Regions from separate parts of the Homo sapiens genome. Here region 2 is linked to region 1. Evidence: promoter capture Hi-C in 16 types of primary human blood cells and fetal thymus (Javierre and others, 2016). All regions are on one chromosome and are shown on one strand. The core of a region is centred on a gene start or on the middle of the fragment in contact, and the rest is flanking DNA. Distances in the headings are between cores, read along the strand shown. Region 1 holds the start of KRT37 (keratin 37). Region 2 overlaps KRT12 (keratin 12).

The links. Contacts are between HindIII fragments. The CHiCAGO score rates a contact against its expected background, and 5 or more counts as called.
Region 2: a fragment that was not itself captured here is called in contact with the fragment with the promoter of KRT37 in region 1 in 5 of 17 cell types (erythroblasts, M1 macrophages, naive B cells and 2 more); the score reaches 9.7 in erythroblasts.

The regions. Positions count from the first base shown.
Region 1 is chr17:41,422,031-41,428,001 of GRCh38, forward strand. KRT37 (keratin 37) reads right to left here and starts at 2,555. Exons shown (of 7, transcript NM_003770.5): 1 at 2,002-2,555; 2 at 1,732-1,814; 3 at 748-904; 4 at 243-404; 5 at 39-164. The coding sequence starts at 2,493. The HindIII fragment of the contact is 11,234 bases long and covers 1-5,971 here.
Region 2 is chr17:40,857,767-40,864,651 of GRCh38, forward strand. KRT12 (keratin 12) reads right to left here. Exons shown (of 8, transcript NM_000223.4): 4 at 5,937-6,098; 5 at 5,719-5,844; 6 at 5,357-5,577; 7 at 4,799-4,869; 8 at 3,537-3,992. The coding sequence ends at 3,895. The region is part of intron 1 of LOC105371777 (a long non-coding RNA gene); the gene reads left to right. Among named protein-coding and RNA genes, the nearest start is that of KRT12, 6.0 kb to the right of the region's middle. The HindIII fragment of the contact is 1,078 bases long and covers 5,008-6,085 here.

The DNA.
Region 1 (5,971 bases), core at 1,305-3,804:
GGGGCATTTGCAGTGCAGTGAGGGTGAAGGACACGTACCAAGGTGTGCTGGGCTTGGCGCTCCACCTCCAGGGCATTCACCGTGCATCTCAGCTCCAGGATCTCCGACTGGCAGCACTGCAGCTCCTCGGAGCAGGACATGGCCTGCAGGCTGATGCCTTCAGACTGGAGCACAGAGAAACACAGTCACCTCCCTGCTCAGATGGAGGCCAGGTACTCCCTGGCTCTGTAACCCCCACTCACCTGGGCTTGGAACCACTGTTCCACATCCTGGTGGTTGGTCTCCACCATGGCCTCGTACTGAGCCCGCATCTCCCCCAACACCCTGTTCAGGTCAATGGTGGGCTCAATGTCCAGCTCGATCCGGAACTTCTCCCCCAGCTGACTCCTCAGAATCTTTACTTCCTGCAGAAATGGAAGCGATAGACAGCCTGCGTAAGGAAACGGCCTTTGATGGAGCAGACAGCACCAGGACTCCGTCCCTGGCAAGCAGTAGGAGGGGAGTCCCACACATAAGCAAATGGGAAAGTCTTGTCCAGAGTGCATTTGGGAGAGCCCACCTGGACACCTTCCTCATGCCCAAGGCAAGTCTGCACTTTCCACAGAGGCCCTCTGGACCCTCAGACCCACCTCAGCCCTGCATCCTTAGGCCAGCTGAGCCCAGGCAATGCTCTGAGAGCCCCAGGGCCGGGGAGCTCCCCTGTCTGCCCAGCGCCCTCCCCAGGAGTCTGAGCAGCCAGGGCCACACCTGCTCGTGGTTGCTCTTGAGGGAGAGCTGCTCCTCCTTCAGGGACTCCTGCTGGGCCTCCAGGTCGGCCTTGGCCAGGGTCGCGTCATCCAGGAGCTTCTGCGTCCCGCACTTGTCCGCCTCCACCAGCTGGTGAAGGGAGCGCTCACTCTCCAGCCTTCCGTCACAGGAGGCACAGGGTCAAAAAGAATGCCCCAATAGCCCCTCTCAGCTGCCCTGGCTTCCTACCTCCCACACCACCTTGGATCCTTATTTGTTCACGTGGGCAGTATACACTATTCTCAACCCTGCAGCGACACGGTTTGTAGTCAGGACATTATGCCCATTGACCAGATGGAAGACTGAGGCTCAGAAACAAAACACGAGTTGTTCAGAATTCCATGCCCAGTTAATAGTAAATGCATGGACTCATCCTAAGTGTTCTGACTTCAAATGCAGCATTTATTCTGCCATAATAGGAGTCATTTGGCCAGGAAAAAGAATGGCTAAAAATAAGCCTCTGGACCTTCAGTTTGCTGCTTTTCCTCTTGGATTCATTATTTCTCGTTGTTTTCTTGCTTTTCCCCTTCATTCAAGCACAACTCTAGCTACCAAGGAGCTTCAATGACAATTCCTCCAGCTGATGGATTTGGCCAAGAGTCAGAGAGTCTAGCAACAACCTATGCATTGACAGTTTATTTTTGTGATGACTCAATTTTACTTCTGATTGAAAAGCAAAATCCTCTTATCTTCTAGATATGGGAGAAAGTGACATAGGTTCTAACCAATCTAGACTACAGCCCTTCTTTTTCTTTCAATGCTTATATTCTCTTTCCTCCTATATAATGACCATTTCTAGCAACAGGCTAATTTAAGGTGTGGAGAGAAATATTCTTCTAGTCAAAAACTGTTTTTGAACACCTACAATATAGACTGAGTAATGGGGCGGGCCCTTGGAAATACAGCAGGAGAGAAGTCACACTGACCCTCCTCATCCTGACTTACTTGATCCTAAAGTCATCAGCAGCCAGCTTCGCGTTGTCAATTTGTACAATCAGCCTGGCATTCTCAGCCTTGCTGCACAGGATCTGAGGAAAACGGAAAGACGGTTCACACACAAAGCACCATACTCTAAGCTCCCACTCCATGTGTGGTATTTACGCTCATGTCCAAGAGAAACCAAGAACCCAAAGCTCTCTGGACCTTATGCAGATTCCTCCTGCGAAGGCTTCTGCCTTCTCAGACCCAGCATGCCCAGGCGATCCCACACCTCACCTTCTGCTGGAGCTCCTCGATTGTACGGAAGTAGGACTGGTAGTCGGGGCACACGGTGGACTCGTGGCACTTGCTCCTCTCGAGGAGTGTGGTCTCCAGCTCTGCATTCTCCTGCTCCAGCTGGCGCACCTTCTCCAGGTAGTTGGCCAGGCGGTCATTCAGGAACTTCATGGTCTCCTTCTCATGGCCATTCAGGGTGTTTTTGCCGTAGGCCCCACAGATTCCGATGTTGCCGGGAATGTGACAGGTCCCTGGCAAGGGACAAGCAGTGTGACTGGTTGGGGGCAGACAGAGGCTGGGGCGGCCCAGGGGAGTCGACCCCACACGGACTCTGTTGGCGTGTGCCACGTTGGCCAAGAGGCACATGGAGGCAGCATTGGCCTCTGCCACAGGCTGGCACCCAACATCGATAGGAGAGACAAAGACATTTCTTGCTCCAGGAGCCATGGTGCAACCCAGAGGGCATGAGGAGGTGCTGTAGAAGGAGGTCATGGTGTAGGGCTGAGGCTGCACAGGAGCTTCAGATCAGCTGGGAAGGCTGAGCCACTGAGACTGAAGCCTCCTCTCCTCCCAACCCTTTTATACCCCATCCTGGGCGGGTGTTGGCTCCAGTGCTTTGACCTCCTGCCTTGATTATCTACCTGTTGTGGTGCCATCATCCTGTTACTCAGCTGCTGAGTTTACCATGAGAAGTTCCTCAGCTCATTAAAGCAATGTTGACAAATCTGAGATGCCTCTTGGCTCTTCCATATCAGGTTAGCTGTTGGTGGGAAGTCAGAGACTCACTGTTTCTGCTCAACAAACACCAGCAGTTGATTCAGGCCCCAATTGCTCTCTCTGGACTATGGTCTCTGTGGATGTGGTCACAATGAAGGCTCAAATCTTTCCGTCAGTAATTTGTGTAGCAGGAGACACAGAGAACCAATGGGACCCACTGGATCTTTCGCCTGTGCAAGACTGAATCAGCCTTTCCTTTGAAGAGAAAATATCAGTTAATAAAACCAATGCATCTACTGATATTTGACGATTGAGAGGCGCCTTTTTTTCTTTCTTCTTTCACATTGCATACTCCCTTGAGAAGCAATAACATCTGGAAGCAATGGCGCTAATTAAGTTTTGGTTGACTAGTCAGAATCAGCTATTCATTCATTTGTTCATTCATTCATTGGTTCAGCATGCTTCCTGAATATCCCCCATAACTCAGGCAGTGTGCTGGTTCCTGGACACGCAATGTTCCCTGTTCATCAGGAGTAAACAATGCCTCTGAAATCTCTGGATGTTCTACACAAACTTGAATGAGAACCATAGATCAACAAGAGTTAGTGAAAGACAGAGGATCTATAGTTCTGGCCAAGGAAGTATCTAGAAAGAAATCACTAACAAAGAAAAATCTTATTTGATCCAGGAAAGGGAGATTGGGCACAGAGCTCAAGCAGTATTCAAATGAAAGGTCCAGAACTAACATTGATTGAGTACTTAGGTGTGCTAGGCATTCTACTGTGTTCTTTCCTATCTAACCCTTACCACCTATGAGGTGGTTACTCATTGCCTCAATGTACAGATGAGAAAACTAGAGTGAAGTACATTTGCACATTTTCTGATTGACAGTTAGTGAACTGGCAAAGGCTCGATTCAGTCTCATGTCTGCTAGGCCCATTCTCTTTTCACTTCATCATGGCCCCCGGTGAGAACAACGGTGTCATTGCCCCGTCAGTGCTGGGCCTAAGGAGAGGGCAAGAAGGGGCTTAGTTACTGGATGAGAAATTGTGGTGAAAAGAAAATTACTGAAGGTCTTTGTGTTCCAGCAAAGGAAAAGATTTAAATACTATGGCAGTGACAACAAGAAAATGCACTTTAAAAAGTTAAACTAGGCCGGGCGCGGTGGCTCACGCCTGTAATCCCTGTACTTTGGGAGGCCAAGGCAGGCGGATCACCTGAGGTCAGGAGTTCGAGACCAGCATGAACAACATGGAGAAAACCGGTCTCTACTAAAAATATAAAATTAGCCGGGCATGGTGGTACATGCCTGTAATCCCAGCTACTCAGGAGGCTGAGGAGGAGAATTGCTTGAACCCGGGAGGCGGAGGTTTCCGTGAGCCAAGATTGCGCCATTGCACTCCAGCCTGAGCAACAAGATTGACACTTTGTCTCAAAAAAGAAAAAAAAAGTTACGCTAGTTTGTAACATATGCATCATTTAAGACAGGGTGCGTCCTGAGAAATGCGTCGTTAAGAGATTTCTTCACTGTGGAAACATTATAGGGGGAACTCACACAAACCTAGATGGTAGAGCCTACTACACACCTAGACTGTATAGCACAGCCTATAGCACCTGGCTACAAACCTGTACAGCATGTTGCTGTACTGAGTATCATAGGCAACTATTATTAACACGATAATATTTGTGTATCTAAACATAGAAAAGGTAATGCATTGCACTACGACATTATAACCACTTCCACATCACTAGAGAATAGGAATTTTCAGCATCATTATAATCTTGTGGGACCACCGCCCGTATATGTGGTCTGTCGTTGACAGAAACATTCTGACTGTATATCCCAAATCCCAGAGATTTCCAGTAGAGCTGGAAAACAAGTCAACCAATGGGGGTGTGGCCAGGAGTCATCCCTCCCAAGTGGTAGAGGGAAACCAGAAGGACCATGGGACAAGCTCTAAAAGAGTATAAATAAACTCTTTAAAAAAAAAAAAATCCCAATTAGTGGGAAAGTAAATGGCTGATACTAGTAGCAAAACCTTAAGTCTTTGAAATTGACATACTGGAAATGAGCCATTATTAAGATTTTAAATGAAAATAATAGGATTTAGACATAAAATAGGAAGCAAAATACAGTAAACAGAAATCGTGTAGCCAAATATGCATCAAATATGCATTCCCTTCAGCTACACTTTTTTCCTCTGAAATACAAGTTTTAGAAAATCTTAGAAGAGGGGTGGGCGCAGGACTTAATGCTGGGAAGCAACAACTTTGGGGCTGAATTTACTTGAATGGATTACAAATTGCATTGTTACACAGCTAAAAAAAACTTTATGTATGAAAAATGATAATAGCCTTACACTGAGTACAAATAATACTTAAAAGCATGTGAAGATGTGAGCATCTGTGATGTTACTTATAAAAAAAAAGTTTAGGTTTTTTTCCGTAAGTTATTGGGGTACAGGTGGTATTTTTTCCATAAGTGGTGGGGTTTTTTTCCATAAGTATTGGGGCACAGGTGGGTTACGTGAGTAAGTTCTTTGGTGGTGATTTGTGAGATTTTGGTGCACCCATCAGCCAAGCAGTATACACTGCATCCTATTTGTAGTCTTTTATCCCTCACCCGCTCCCTTCCCCCGAAGTCCTCAAAGTCCATTGTATCATTCTTATGCCTTTGCATCCTCATAGCTTAGCTCCCACATATCAGTGACAATATATGATGTTTGGTTTTCCATTCCTGAGTTACTTCACTTAGAATAATAGTCTCCAATCTCATCCAGGTCACTACAAGTGCCATTAATTCATCCTTTTTATGGCTGAGTAGTATTTCATCATATATATGTACCACAGTTTCTTTTTTTTTTTTTTTGAGATAGAGCTTCACTCTTGTAACCCAGGCTGGAGTGCAGTGGCACCATCTCGGCTCACTGCAACCTCCACCTCCCAGGTTCAAGAGATTCTCCTGCCTCAGCTTCCCGAGTAGCTGGGATTACAGGTGCCACCACCATGCCCAGCTAATTTTTGTATTTTTAGTAAAGAAGGTGTTTCGCCATGTTGGCCAGGCTGGTCTTGAACTCCTGACCTCAGGTGATCCACCCGCCTTGGCCTCCCAAAGTGCTGGGATTACAGGTGTGAGCCACTGTGCCCAGCCCACAGTGTCTTTATCCACTCACTGATGGATGGGCATTTGGGTTGGTTCTGTGATTTTGCAATTGTGAATTGTGCTGCTACAAATGTGTGTGTGCAAGTATCT
Region 2 (6,885 bases), core at 4,297-6,796, 560 kb before region 1:
ATTAGGAGGTGGGGTTTTCGAGAGTGGATTAGGTCATGAGGGTGGAGCCCTGGCGAAGGGGATTATTGTCCTTATAAATGAGGCCCTGGGGCATTGCTTTGTCCCTTCTGCCATGTGAGGATATATCGAGAAGCTGTGTATGATCCAGAAAGCGGGTCCTTATCAGACAGTGAAGCTGCCTCCAGAACTGTGAGAAATAAGTTTCTCTCATTTTTAAGCCACGCGGTCCGAGGTATTTTGTTCTAGCCGCCCGAAGGGACTGATAGATGCTGTGCTAGTTGCATTTCTTGTCAGTGAGAACAGGGCAAAGTGAAGTTACATAATAAGAAATGTAATGCTTCCTTTGCCAAGTGAAGACTTATAGGATATTTTGGCCAAGATAGTATCAGAAAAGGACTATTATTTGGGTCTTGCTGGCTGTGCCATGAAATCCTAGCCATTGGAACTTCAATGGGAAATTTTGTGAAATCACGAATTTTTTTCAGATAGTTTTTTCCCCCACGATATAACCCTGCCGGTAGCTGACTTCCCCAAGAGCATATAGTCCAGGAGACCAAGGAAGAACTGAAAGGCCTTTGTGATCTATCTTTGGAGGTCATATACTGTCACTTCTTCAATAAATCTGCTCCTCGTTCATTGTGAGAAGGAACTACACAAGGGAATGAAGACCAGGAGGCAGGGATCACTGGCACCAACCTGGAGGCTGCCACAAGTCACCAATATGTGGGTGCTATTTAAAACCATGGGATTGGCTGGGTGCGGTGGCTCACACCTGTAATCCCAGCACTTTGGGAGGCCGAGGCGGGCAGATCATGAGGTCAAGAGATGGAGACCATCCTGGCCAACATGGCAAAACCCTGTCTCTACCAAAATTACAAAAATTAGCTGGGCGTGGTGGTGTATGCCTATAGCCCCAGCTACTCAGGAGGCTGAGGCAGAAGAATCGCTTGAACCTGGGAGGTGGAGGTTGCAGTGAGCCAAGATTACACCATTGTACTCCAGCCTGGGCAACAGAGCGAGACTCCCTCTCAAACAAACAAACAAAACCCATGGGATAAGATCAGGGAGGAGAGGCTGGGGAGGGATCAGATGAGGTTACCTGGGGAGGGAGTATAGAGAAAAGACAAGAGGATTGAGCCAACATTCAGTCACAGAAGTCTGAGAAAAAGCTGCCTACAGAGTGATGGCTCTGGGAGCTTTGTGGTAAAAAATTTCCAAGAGAAGGGAATGCTGAGAAACTATGGTACTAGCTAATAAATGACCCTTGCATTTATACTTGTGCAAAATCCTTTCCCCTTTGAGTCTCACACCATTCTTATGTAGTTGTAAGGAAAACAGATGTTATTTAAAGCAGTAACTATTTGCAGACACTTTTGAGCACCAGGGAAGTAGAATCCTTTATTTATTACTTGGGGGCTGTGGACCTTGTTCAGAGGCCTTGATAAAATCCTTTTGAGTCTGAAAGGTAAAGGTTACCCTAGGATGTGTGCTGGAAGGTGAAGGCTAGACAAAGAGAGCTGAGCGTATAATAAAGTGAGATGAGTGGAGGATCTGAAACCATTAAAAATATTTTTTTCTTTTCTTTTTTTTGAGACAGGGTCTTACTCTGTTGCCCAGGCTGGAGTGCAGTGGCACGATAACAGCTCACTGCATTCTTGACCTTCCCAGGCTCAGGTAATCCTTCCACCTCAGCCTCCCAAGTAGCTGGGACTACAGGTGTGCACCCCCACACCCGACTAATTTTTTTTTATTTTTTAAATTTTTTTTGTAGAGACAGAGTTTTACCATGTTGTCCAGGCTGGTCTTGAATTCCTGGGCCCAAGCAATCTGCCCATATTGGCCTCCCAAAGTGCTGGGATTACAGACGTGAGCCACTGCATCTGGCCATATAAATGATATTAAAAGGAAAAGCTGCATACTGAAGCAAATCAGCTTAAGTTGGCTGACTAGCCATTGGCCTTTGGACTCAGCTCTGGAATTCCTCTTGTCTAACACAACTCCTCCCTCTCCCTTCTGCTTCTTTGACACTCCTTATTCACCATGTCTCCTTGTTTCTTCATCCCACTTTGGTTTCATACAGTAAATAATAATAAGACACAAATATTGAGTACTTTCTAGGTGCCAATAGTTTCCAGGTTCCTAGTGCTTTAGGTACACGACCTCATTTCATCTTCACAAAACCCGTGCCATGAAGCAGGTGCAGTCATTGCTATCATTTCCACTTTAAGAAACTGAGGAACACAGAGGTTAAATTACTTGTTATTAAGTAGCAGAGCCGGAAATTGAACCCAGTGTGATGTTAGAGGCCAGGCTCTTAATCATTGAATTTTGCCCATTTTCCTTTTAGGGTTTTGAATTTGGCAACCCATGTTGAACCACCATCTACTCAGGCTGAGACTTTGGCTGCCTTTTTCCCTAATGCAGAACATGATTTTTGTTACTGACTTGTGGGTCTGACCTGCCCCAGTGGGGACCCCACCCTGGGCCTCACTGCTGCCAGCTAGGAGAAAGGAGAGCAGAACCATGTTTGTTCACACCCTCTGTCTTTTCACATGTATTTGCCCTGTTGCCTTTCTCCCTCGTCTACCTGGATGATTTCTTTATGTAGCATTTCATTGCCCCTCCTGGAAAATTGTTCACTTCTTCCATGTGTCCTTCGAAGTTCTGTTTGTTTTCTTTTTTTTGCTTTTTTTTTTTTTGAGACAGAGTCTCACTCTATTGCCATGCTGGAGTGCAGTGGTGCAATCTTGGCTCACTGCAACCTTCGCCTCCCGGGTTCAAGTGATTCGCCTGCCTCAGCCTCCTGAGTAGCTGGGATTACAGCCACCTGCAACTGCACCCGGCTAATTTTTGTATTTTTAGTTAAGATGGGGTTTCACCATGTTGGCCAGGATGGTCTTGATCTCTTGAGCTCATGATCTGCCCGCCTCAGCCTCCCAAAGTGCTGGGATTACGGGCGTGAGCCATGGTGCCCAGCCCTTTGAACTTCTATTCAACAGATCTCACTGTATCAACATTCTTGGTAGGTGTTTATCTCTGCCCTCAACCATGAGCTCCTCAAGGCAAGGACCATATCATATTCATCACTGAGCCTCCAACCTGGCACACTGTAGGGGCTCAGCGTTTCTTGACTGCATGAATGATGGTGCTAGAAAATGAACAGGACAACTCTCAACTGCTGTAGTAGACAATATAATTTTGCTACAACCTTGATGAGCTTACATAAAAAGGCCAGAACTTCTAAAAGAATCTTCTTTTAGCTTAATCCTCAAACCCTGACATCTTCATCCCAGTTTTATCTACATTATCATTATTATCATTATTAATGTTGTGTAGAGATGGGGGTCTCTCTATGTTGTCCAGGCTGGTCTTGAACTCCGGGCCTCAAGCAATCATCTTGCCTCTCAGCCTCCCAAAGTGCTGGGATTATAGGTGTGAGTCATTACTCCCAGCCTCTATTTTATTAGTAGTATTTCAAAAACTTCTCTCTATGCTCTTGACATTCTTGTTGGAATCAAGGCATACATTTCACATTATTACCATTCATCTTTTATTACAATTAACTCTATTAAAACAATACTACTTGATTAAAGCTCTATGATTAAAAAATATTCCGGGTTACCAGAAGAAAGTTCGTTAAAAGACTACTCCAGGTCCAGAAGGATATAAGGTAATTTTGATTTGTTACAAAGACCAACATGACCAAAATGACTTGTGACTGAATATTGTTTCAGAAGGGCAAAAAGGATTCAATGTGAATAGGGAATCCAAAGAAAATGGAACAGACAAAAATAGGGATTGAAGTAATACAGCATGTTACTCTGAAAGGAATAATTTCTACTTGTAAATTTCTTGTTCCTAAGGAACCAATCATGGGGCAGATCTTGTGAAATTTTACATTAGTTCTTCAATTTCCTGAACTTGAGATGAGACCACCTCACCATTCACCATCTCCTGCACAACTGTCTTGATTTTTCGGGTTTTGGTTGGGTCTAAAGATAAAAATGGAATAAGGGGGCAAGAGTTAGTGTTTCAAATATTAATCCAACACTGGTTGTTTAATGTAGGCTTCTAAATTAAGCATTGGTTGATACAATCCATCTAATTAAACTTTCAAAAGTAAATTTTACTTCTCAAAAATGTGTTTTAGCCAATGACAATGAAATGTATTCAGTGTTGCCTTGTACATATATGAAAACTTTTTTTAAGAAAACATTTCAAAGGTGGTTATGGTGATCATAATACCTTGCAGCAGAGTAGGTTTTTTCCCTTCTGCTTTGCCATTTTTTTTATTTTTTAATTTTAATTTTAATTTTCTTAAAGACAGGGTCTGGCTCTGTTGCCCAGGTAGGAATGCAGTGGCATGATCATAGCTCACTATAACCTCTAACTCCCGGGCTCAAGCGGTCCTCCTGCCTCAGCCTCCAGAGTAGCCGAGATCACAGGTATACACCACCACACCCAGCTATTTTTTTTCTTAAGTTTTTTGTAGAGATGGGGTCTCGCTATTTGCCCAGGTGGGTCACGAACTCCTGGCCTCAAGCGATCCTCCCACCTCAGGTTCCCGAAGCTATGAGGTTACAGGCATGAGCCACCATGCCCAGGCCCCCAAAAGTTTTAATATGGTATAGACTACTCATTTTGTGCAGGAATGCATAAATGTTTTTCCTTGGCTCAGAATATAAATATGCTTTAAATTAAAATTAATAATAATGCAGTAGTCAATGAGGTCTTACAGGTTTTGCATTAATAAATGTGATTCCGACTTATTCTAAGTGATTCTAGGGTTTCTGCATACCTTTAGAGGAATCAGTTGACTGTGCTTGTGATTTGGAGTCTGTCACAAATAAACTTTCCTCCAAACCATCACTGTAAGAAAACAAAGGAGATGACCTCAAAAAGTGAAACAACCTGGCTTTTAATGGAAGATCTGGTCTGAGAAATTAGATTTCCCAATTTGTAGGCCTGAGTTCTTCCAACTAGTGCAGACTCTGATCACTTTTGGAAAGCTTGTTAGAGTAGGTGGTTCAGGTGGCTACTATGTGTCCTTCTTATCATCAGGTCTTTGATATCAGAAATTGAGTAAGTGACTTTTATAGTACAGGGAGTACTCATTTACAAACTGTTTCTGACCGTGGTGCCTTTGTTCTTTGCAGCATTTTATGAATTATCAAGTAAGATAATGGGTGAAAACACTTTGCAAAGTGTAGAGCATTTAGTAAATCCCAGGCATATCTTTACTAGACTTGTGTTTGTTTGTTTGCTTTTCTGTCAACTAAAACCCCATTCCTTCTATTTCTGCTGCCCACTCTTGGTCAGCCCCTGAAGGTGTTTACAGCCTCCGTTGTCTGCTCACCCTTGGGCCTCCCCGTCCAGCAGGCGGCGGTAGGTCTCAATCTCCAGCTCCAGGCGGGCCTTGACATTCAGCAGCCGCTGGTGGTCCACGTTCTGGCGCTCTGCGTCCGCGCGCACCTGGAGCAGCTGTGCCTCCAGGTTGCTGATGAGCTGCTGCACCTGGGACAGCTGCGCGCAGTAATCGCCCTCGGCTTCGGCCAAGGAGTCCTCCAGGGATTTCTTCTGCACGTGGGAGGGAAATGGCATAGAAATAACGATGGAGGGGACCGAAAAGAGGAGGGTAGCCAACGGCTAATGTAATTTGGATGCAGCATTTTCTTTGGAAGTCCAAAGGATGCTACGTCTGTTTGCGCACGAGCCTACCATGGCGAGCTGGGACTGTAGCTCGATCTCCAGGTTCTGAAAGGCGCGACGCAGGTCGGTGACCTCGCTCTTGCTGGACTGAAGCTGCTCGGTGTTGGTGCTAATCTCCTTACGGAGCTCCCCGCTCTGCAACAGCAAAGACAGCCAGGGGGCTCGAGCGCTGAGCTCGTTCGCAGGCCTTTCTGTGAATGTATCAAAGCCTTTGTTGTTTGTGTTACCTTTTCAATGAACCAGGCTTCAGCGTCCTTCCGATTCTGCTCAGCGATGGTTTCATACTGCGCCCGCATATCATTGAGGAGCCTGGTGAGGTCCACTCCGGGGGCAGCGTCCATTTCTACGCTGACCTCGCCTGGGCCGCCCACCCGGAAGCTTTGGAGCTCCTGGGGACAGCATGTGAGAGAGAGGGGCACAGGGGTCCATTGTGACTTTCGTGGGCCCTGGATACTTTTGTCCTCTTGGGCCCCTTCCTACACACACACACACACACACACACACACACACACACACTTAAAAATTCTATCTTATGACTGTTGGTATAAAGACAAATATATTAATGTAATACATTAAAACTTTTTTAACCTCAAAATTCATATTTTTCTTCTGATATTACAAGAACTTAAGACATATTCATGGGTCCCTGAAATTACCACAGACCCTGGGAGCAGTGCCTGCTGTGCCTAATGGGTAAGTTGGCTCTGCTTCTTGAGGGACCACGACCTTCACGTGAAAGGAGGCCTGGCGTACACTCACTGGGGTTTTCACCTACAGCTGCCAAACCGAGGGCTGCAGACAGTACCTGGGCTTGCACGCTGTTTGTGCCACAATCATCGAAAATCTAGTAGAAACTTCCTATTGCCAGCATCCCTTCCCTACCTAGCCTCCAATATGCACCATGGCACCTCAGAGTTTTCTGGTGTGCATTATGCTAAGTATAACCAGTTTCTCTGACATATAAAACATTATATATTATTGGTAGACTTTTGTTTTAACTTTTAAAATACTCAGTCTTTTTAAAATCACTGAATTAGGACTGTTAGCATTCCTATTGTCATTGCCTTATAATGAAAATGACAAAATCAGAAAGTGCCTCAAATTTGTTGAGCCTTAGCAGGAACCACCATCACTACTACCAACACACACACATCACACACACACATACCACACACA